2 separate regions of the Homo sapiens genome follow, and region 2 is linked to region 1. Evidence: promoter capture Hi-C in human tissues and cell types (Jung and others, 2019). All regions are on one chromosome and are shown on one strand. The core of a region is centred on a gene start or on the middle of the fragment in contact, and the rest is flanking DNA. Distances in the headings are between cores, read along the strand shown.

Evidence for each region. The method cuts DNA at HindIII sites, captures the fragments that hold promoters and counts their contacts. A contact is called where the count stands out against the background at its distance.
Region 2: a fragment that was not itself captured here is called in contact with the fragment with the promoter of KIF23 in region 1 in 1 of the 25 tissues and cell types used here (mesenchymal stem cells).

Annotation. Positions count from the first base shown.
Region 1 is chr15:69,411,837-69,416,195 of GRCh38, reverse strand. KIF23 (kinesin family member 23) reads right to left here and starts at 1,847. Exons shown (of 24, transcript NM_001367805.3): 1 at 1,720-1,847; 2 at 133-202. The coding sequence starts at 1,730. It overlaps KIF23-AS1 (KIF23 and PAQR5 antisense RNA 1), which reads left to right and starts at 1,167. Exons shown (of 2, transcript NR_132971.1): 1 at 1,167-2,044. RefSeq lists silencers at 1,448-1,527, 1,558-1,677. The HindIII fragment of the contact is 14,046 bases long and covers 1-4,359 here.
Region 2 is chr15:69,274,035-69,278,393 of GRCh38, reverse strand. No RefSeq gene overlaps it. Among named protein-coding and RNA genes, the nearest start is that of PAQR5-DT, 23 kb to the left of the region's middle. The HindIII fragment of the contact is 5,404 bases long and covers 1-4,359 here.

The DNA of each region.
Region 1 (4,359 bases), core at 598-3,097:
ATTTAACTAAATGTTCTTTGATTATACTTCCACATGTCTTCTTCTTTCCCTTCCAAGCATACACATAAGACAGAAAGGACTGAAGAGATAAGTTTCTTAAACACCACACATAAATTTACAGGGATACCTTACCCCAACTGGGTCTTTAAGGTTCGTTTGGGACCCTTTTTTCACGGTAGGTTTCCGGGGTGTCTTAGCTCTCCTGGTCATAGATTAAAAAATAATAATAACTTTTTTTTCAGTTCAACACGAATACAAAAGCCTCACCTAAAACTTATACAATCTTTCTAGGTTATCTGTAAATTATCCCTTAGCAGTTGCAAAACACTGCATCCCAAATAACATTAATAATCATAGTAGCAGAGTGTTTGTGGCATGCGTAATCCAAAAGTAATTAAAATTTGCTTTAGAATACATTTTTGGTACCAAAGCTACCTACTTATTCTCTGATTAGTTCTATACTTAAAATGGCTTGCATATTTTCTTGAGCAACAATTTAACAGAGGCACTACAAATTATAACTGCCCACACTTTACAGACTGACAAGCGATTAACTTCAATACACTATAAAAATGCACATGGAGGAAACCATTCTTTCGTCAAGGGTTACGCCTGTACTTTCAAGGAACAACCAGTCATTGAATGCTCAAAACATTACTCTTTGTCTCCAAACAAAATCTGGTCCCAAACTGCCAATTTCTTGGTTTCTTAAGTAGGGGCAATCAAAAAGTTATTTTGATTGATTTCACCATTTCTCTAGCATCTCATCTTTTTCCCTTCACATTTATCTATAGGCTAGATATACATTTAACACATTAAAATTAAGTAAGATTATTGGCTTCGACTGTAGTTTAAAAATATTTTTCCAAACATATTCTCAGATGAAACACAAGCAAATTCGTGTTATTCAGTGCAAAATACTTTGTGGTGGGCTTAAGTTAAACTCAACGTATATTTCTTATATATAATTTTTTTCATCTAAAGATTTTGACTTCGGCCTCTTAATAAACAAGTTGTCTTTTGCAAACGACTCCCTAAATGGTAATAAAGCCAATCCTCTCCTTTGCACGACAAATATTTCTTTACCCAGGAATGATGCTGCGCCGAAAATATTAGCTTAGGAATGTGGGCGGAGGTTCTCTGCGGCCACAAAATACAGCAGAAGTAACTGGCCTGTGTAAGCGGATGGGCTCGGCCTCAAGGACAGGGTGCTCGGCTGAAAAAAAAGCTAGCGGCGATCACCGGTGCCAGGGCTCTCCAGAAACGGAGCCCATCTAACCAATGCCCAGCACACTCGCTCTGCTCCACACACGAGACCACCTCCGACCCGCACTAAGTTGGCCAACTGCACTCTGGAGGCGGCGGCAGCCAGCGAGGGAGAAGGGAAAGGCTGTCCCGGGACCCCGAGGAGGACTGCCCCGCCCCCGGGAACCGGGTGCGGCGTAAAACAACCCCGGCTCCGGGCCGACCCTTCCTGGCCCCTTGGAGGCCCAGGCGGGGCGGCGGGGGGCGACGCGGCAGGGGTCTCCGCGCCCAGGCTCCCGCGGAGCGGCCACACGTGGAGGTTCCCACTTTGGGGTCGCGGCCGCAGCAGCACCGGGCGGGATGCTGTCCGCGCTGCCCGCGTACGGCCGCGGCCTGAGTGGAGACGCCTGCCCCCAGCCCCGAGGCCTCGGCCCCCGTCCGCCCTCTCTCCCTGCTCGGCGGCCTCGTACTCACGCTGACTTCATGGCAGCAGGCTCCACGCCGCCCAAACGCGCATGCGGGACGGCTGGCTGGCGAAGACTGCGGGACGTTAGGACCGGCAGCAAGAACTAGAACTTCGCGGCTAAGGCGCGGTGCTCTGCGAAGCCGGCGGCGACGCTAAGAGCCCAGGTGAGCTCCCGCCTGGCGCATTTCAAACGGGCCAATCAGCGCCCGTCCGCAGGGAGAGGCAGGACCTCCGCGGAAGTGACTTCGCTGCCGGAAGTGGCGCTTGTCTCCTAGGCGACCGACGCTGAAAGGGCCGCGGAGTCGCGTGTCAGGGCTGGAGGGAGATCTTGAGGTATGGTATTTAAACTCTTCCGCCTTGCGATGACGAAACTGAGGGTTTCTTTTCCTCCATCACAAGAAGTTCAATGGAAGGGCCTTTCCAGGGTTGATTCAGAGGTCGGAATGTCGTTCTGGTGAAAAGTGTTGTATTCCTGTGCTGTGCCCTGCTCCAAGTCTCAGGCTCCGTCTCTCTGGCTCCCAAGTCACCACATTATCTTGGCGTCTTTTCTCTCTCTGATTCACCTTTCCTGGGTTTCCCTCCAGCTCTGTCCTATATGTACATTATTTTATCAAATCTTTTTTTTTTCCTTTTTTATTTTTTGAGGTGGAGTTGCTCTGTCGCCCAGCCTGGACTGCAGTCTTCAGCTCACTGCAACCTCCACCTCCTAGGTTCAAGCAATTCTCTTGCCTCAGCCTCCCGAGTAGCTGGGATTACAGGCGCGCACCACCACGCCCAGCTAATTTTTGTATTTTTAGTAGAGATGAGGTTTCACCATATTGGCCAGGGTGGTCTAGAACTCCTGACTTAAGGTGATCTGCCTACCTTGGCCTCCCAAAGTGCTGGGATTACAGGCGTGAGCCACTGCGCCCGGCCTGTTTTATCAAATCTTGATTGTGTTTGATCCTGGCCTTACGGAGATGAATAAAATTTGGTCCTTACCCTTAAGGGGCAACCTTTTGAACCTACTCTTGCCTTAGATGAACTGATTCTATATCACTTCTGTCTTTGACCCTAAGCCGATGACTACCAAATACACATCTACACCTGGGCTCTCATGGAACTCTAGCCCCTTCTCAACTTCCTAAAGGACCACAGCACTGGTAAGGATAGTCACAATGTCCTTGGCCAATATTGTTGGTGCTCAGGAAACGACACCCCAGAGTATGGCTCTTTGGCACACTGAGTGCTTTGAACTAAAGAAGACTGAAAGTGCCTCAGAGAAGCCTTAAAAGCAAAGTCTGTCTCTGACTTTCTCCTGCCCTCTTGTCTCCCACCCCTCTGTGTCTCCTAAAGCAAATAATAGAAACCAGAATTTCTGTTCCCCAAGGCGGGTCATGGAAACTAGAACCCCTTTTCTCCCAAGCAAGCCAGAAACATTATTCTAGAAAAACCTAGAAATATTAATCTAGCCTTCCCCCACCTTTTTGTGTAAGAGCTGGCCATAAAGACATTCTTTGATGTACCTTGTCATAAGACCCTCGTTCCAAAAGGGTCTTGCCCTACACTCAGGAAGAAGGAAAGCTGCACAGAGAGGCCAAGAAGAATCTGAACAGACAGGACTTGCTGGATTCCTCCTTCAGTCTGTTACTATTAGATCATACTCCTTTTGTACAATCACATTTCTACACAGCTGTCCATTCTTCATCTCATCTAAGCATAAAAATGGACAGCTTTCCCTGGGTCTTTGGGTCTTCATTTCTGAAGGCACTTACATCCCATAAAACTGTGATTCAATAAGTTATCCATTTATCTTGCTAACCTGTTTTTTGTTATGGTAGTGTCAGCTGTGACCCTTAAGATGGGTAAAGAAAAGTATCACACCTTTTCCACCCCTACATTGCACATTAGGATGGTTCCAACTTTTCCTATTACAGATACAGCTATAGTGAATGAATGTGGAAATTTATACAATGCAGGTAAATATGTAGGAAACATTTCTAGAAACAGAATTGCTGAGTCAAAGAGTATACATATGTGTAACATTTCACAGATATTGCAAATCATTCTCCATAAAAGCTGTCCAAATGTACACTCCCACCAGCCTGTATGAGAGTGCCTATTTCTCCACAATTCTCAAAGTGTTATCAAACTTTTCAGTAGCTACCAATCTATTGATATCTCATATCAATTGGTGAGAAAAAACATGTAGTTAAATTTTTCATTTATTTTCAGATAAATGTTGTCTATTCATATATTTTAGAGCCCTTTTGATTCCTTCTCTATCAACTGTGTTCATATTCTTTGCCTCTTTGTTCTATTGGTTGTTCGTTTTTCTTAATGATCTGTGAAAGTTCTTATATTAAAAAAAAATTGGTCCTCATCCAAAATACGAGTTTAAATACTTTTATTTTTCACATTTTGGTTATTTTTATTTGTATATGTTTTGTGACAGCTTGGAAAAAATTTCAGGTAGACAGATTAATCCGTCTTTTCTTTTATGGCTTCTGTTTTGTGTCATACTGGAAAAATACATCCATTCTGAGTTTTTTATTTTATTTCTCATTTTTTGTTTCCTAGTGCTTTTATTGCTTTGCTTCCTATGTTGAAGTCTTTGAATGATTAGGACTTTGTTGTCAAGCTAGAGTTTGGTATTTTGTTGGTTTGTT
Region 2 (4,359 bases), core at 1,307-3,806, 140 kb after region 1:
GGAATAAAACATAACTATCTTAAAGTTTATGAAGTAATTGGCACCTTAAGATGGAATATTTTTGGTCAGGTGTGGTGGCTCATGCCTGTAATCTTAGCACTTTGGGAGGCTGATGTGGGTGGATCACTTGAGGTCAGGAGTTCGAGACCAGCCTGGCCAACATGGTGAAACCCTGTCTCTACTAAAAATACAAAAATTAGCTGGGCATGATGGCACATGCCTGTAGTCCCAGCTACTTGGGAAGCATCTGTGTGCTGGTTCTATTGTCAAATCTGATTTTCTATACTTTTTTTTTTTTTTTTTTTTTGAGACACAGTCTCACTCCGTCACCCAGGCTGGAGTGCAGGGGCCCCGCCTCCCAAGTTCAAGCAATTCTCCTGCCTCAGCCTCCCGAGCAGCTGGGATTACAGGCTGCGTCACCATACCTGGCTAATTTTTCTATTTTTAGTAGAGATGGGGTTTTGCCATGTTGGCCAGGCTGTTCTCGAACCCCTGACCTCAAGTGATCCACCCACCTCGGCCTCCCAAAGTGCTGGGATTACAGGCATTAGCCATCACACCCCACAAAAAATGTATTTTTAAAAATTAAAATACAGCTTTAAATAAGACAACCAGGCAACATGTAGACAGGCCTTTGGGTGGGTTCCTGTTGGTGAGAGCTCAGACATAATGAGACAGAGAAGTGCTGACAGCCGAGGAGAAACAGAAACACAAGAGAATGGCCCCATTTCCCCTCTCCTTTCATGCCAAGCCTAGGGCCAAAGGAGACAAGACATGGCCCTGCCTAAGTGCACACCGGGAAGCTCTTTTCCAGATTCCCATAGATGTGAAGGCACCAAGATGAAGAGAATCCAACTGCGAGTCTACAGACCAGGGTTTTACTCCAGCTCCGTCACCAGGACGTTGACCCCACACAGTCCTCACACACACACCGCTGCTCCGCCACTGAGAGGAGGTGCCCACTCGGCCAGTCTCTTAGGGCCATTCTGAGGATAAAATATGTCATTATTTTCATGAAATGAGCTAAAAAGTATAACGTAGGAAGGTTCTTTAGAATCTCATTAATTCAAACTCTAATTTGGAATTTGAAAAATTTTAAACGGTTTCATTTTTCACAGCAAAGAATAAAATTGTGTACCTCCCAAAGCTGTCACTTCATGGACTCACAGAAGGCAGAGACTTCATCTCACTCATCACTGCATCCCTTGCAGCCAGCACAGTGCAGGCTGTTTGCTGTGCATCTGTGTATTCACTTGTGTGTGTGTGTGTGCGCGTATTTGCACGTATTAAACACACGCTGTGTACATTTTAATTTGTAATAGAGGCAGCTTTTTGAAAGTCCACTAGGGAAGAGAGCAAATAGCAGGAGAGGGCTGGAGAGAGGCTAGAGGGGTTTTTATGTTGGGTTATTCAAAAAATAACATCAATGGAAGTTGAAGAAATGGAGGCACATGCTAAGAGACTCAATTGCTGAAAAAACTTCCTGTCTCTGCTTTTGGGCTTTTCTAACCATTTAGTGGAGCAAATACCAATTTCAGCAGATCTGATATAGAGTCCACAGATGAAATGGACTAATTATCTTACCTGGCGAATGTAGGAGAGCTCTGGGGCTGAGATCTGCCTCCCTGGTTGAGCCCACTGTGTAGACGGTGGAGTCAGGAGATAGTGGATTATAGTTATTGCCTGGGGACGATGGGTCAGAACATGGAATTTGGAGTCAGACATACCTGGGCTTGAGACCTTGTTTATCAAATAGCTAAATGGTTTCTGGCAAGTTGTTAACTTCTCCAAGTTTGTTTTTTCATCCGTGAAGTTCACAGACTTCCTCCCAAGGTTGTCAAAAGGATTAGAAAGAACACCCGTGGAGTCTTCTAGCAAGAGCCCGACCCACTGTGGGAGCTTAGACACTCTGGCTCTTCGTGTTGGCCCCACTGCTCTGCCTGTGATTTTGGAAAGGAAAGGCCATCCAAAGCTTACCCCAGGGAAGAGCACTCCAGGCCAGTCAGCTGTGGACTCAGTTATTTATGTTAACTAGTTATGACTCATGACAGGGACAGGTCTCATCTTTGCTTTTGGCAGGTAGCACAATCAGTAGGAAGGTGTTCAATAAATACGTAGTGAAAAGAACTGCACGAACTTCAGCAAGCTCCTTAACCCATTTATGCCAGGGGTTACAATTTTTTGAATTTTTGCACGAATGAAAAATCAGACCTTGGCGATGACCTTGAGCAGTAGGATGTAAATAACTCCCACATGCTTAGCATTCCGATAATGGAACACTAGGCAGCAGTGTTTCTTTTTCTCACCTACCAGGAGTCGGGCTTCCAGAGTCATGGTGAGCAGTTAATGAGAGTTAGTTTGAGGAGCACCTGTAATGGTGCCTGTTTCCTCTTCCTATTCCTAAATGCTCATTAGCAAGAAACACTAACCCAGGACCATGGTTTCCAGTACCCCAGACACTGAAACCTACTAATTCAAGCTCACAAGAAGTTGCCTAGGTAATTTCTTCTGATGGATATTTTCAGATGAAGAGAGTGCCTCTTTCTGTTGCCTGCAGTAGCTGAGAAGATAGACAGACACTTTCCCTAAGACTACCTTGCCACGCCATTGATAGGAATCTGTTTGGGGCCTCCCACTGTATTCAACTGAATTGCAGAAACTTAACTTCATTGGTGTTAAAAAGGAAAGATGACAGAATAACAGGCATTAAATTAAGATCATGCATCTTTGCTATATGTTTGCTTAAAAACAAGACCTCTTCCTCACCCCACTTCAGAGATTTACTTCCTTCTGTAGTCCCCAGAGAGATGAACTCTCTTTACTAGATTTTCTGAACTGAAATGGAGCAGCCATTCTTATCTCAGTGATTTCACTAGGTGCTGACAGAACAGAGCAAACTCCCAGGGAGACACCAGCTCTTCTGACGTTAAGCTTAGATGCAATGAGCTTTGCGTTGCTTAAGAACATCTTATCTAAACTGTGTATTTAATACCAGTTGTCCACTGCTCTATTTCTGGTCCTTCACAGGACTTTTTTTCCGCCCCTTTTGCTGTTCTCTTTGCTACTGCTCTTTGATGGCTTGCTTTGCAGTCCTGTCATTTTGTGAAATCCTCCTAGAAAAGGATTAGCAAAATTACACAGTGTTGCTGCTACTTAACATTCAGGAAATGCAGCATACGCATGCAAGTTATCAATCATTCTTACCAGATGGTAAATGTATCTCTTTTCACCAGAAATTGAGCAGCAAACATTCAAATTCATCACCAATACAACATTTACATTCACATCCATTTTCAGTTTGACATCCTTAATGAGCTGGTATAATGAAAATCAATACTTTATCCCTATATTGTTATTTGTAAGTTACGATAGTGCAGACTTGGGATTAAAAAATTATCATTAAACAAAATCTCACCACTACTTGCACTTTTATATACTCTGTCTATACTTCCCACCAACCCGCTCCCAGTACCCCAGAGTTCTGCATTCCGAATGAGCTAATGAAAAAGGCATACAGGTAAGAAGAATAAAAACCTAGAAGTTGTTGTTGTTTTTACCACTGCTTAAATTTAGTGGTTACCTTTTGTTAGTTTATTACAAACTTTGAGAGCAGAGTTCTCTATTTATTGGATTGTACCATGAGGCAACTGAAGTCTATGGGGTGAAAGAGTAAATTCTTCTTTTATTGAGACGGAGTCTCACTCTGTCACCCAGGCTGGAGTGCAGTGGCATGATCTCAGCTCACTGCAACCTCTCCCTGCAGGGTTCAAGTGATTCTCCTGGCTCACCCTCCTGAGTAGCTGGGATTATAGGTGCGCACCACCATGCCTGGCTAAATTTTGTATTTTTCGTAGAGACGGGGTTTCGCCGTGTTGCCCAGGCTGGTCTTGAACTCCTGACCTCAGGTGATCTGCCCACTTCGGCCTCCCAAAGTGCTGGGATTACAGGCGTGAGACACCGGACCTGGCCTGAGTAAATTCTTGATGCTCTAATGGCTGAGCCAGGGAGCCCTGTATTCTGAGTACCAAGTCTAGATTTCTGCCCAACTAATGTTCCCTACAGATTTCAGTTTTGTCCTTCAATGATTATCATCGAATTAAATGGCAACCCTTTGAGTGGTTGCTACTGGCTGAATTGTGTGCCCCTCACCACTCACACGTTAAGTCCTAACTCCCCGGCATCTCAGAACGTGACTGCATTTAGAGACAGGCCTTCAAAGAGGTAATTAAGGTAAAATGAGGTCACATGAGTGGGCCCTAGACACAGAGAGCACAGTTGGAGAGACAGCCTTGAGGATACAGCAAGAAGGCACCATCTGCAAGACATGGTGAGAGGTCTTGGAAGAAACCAAACCTACCA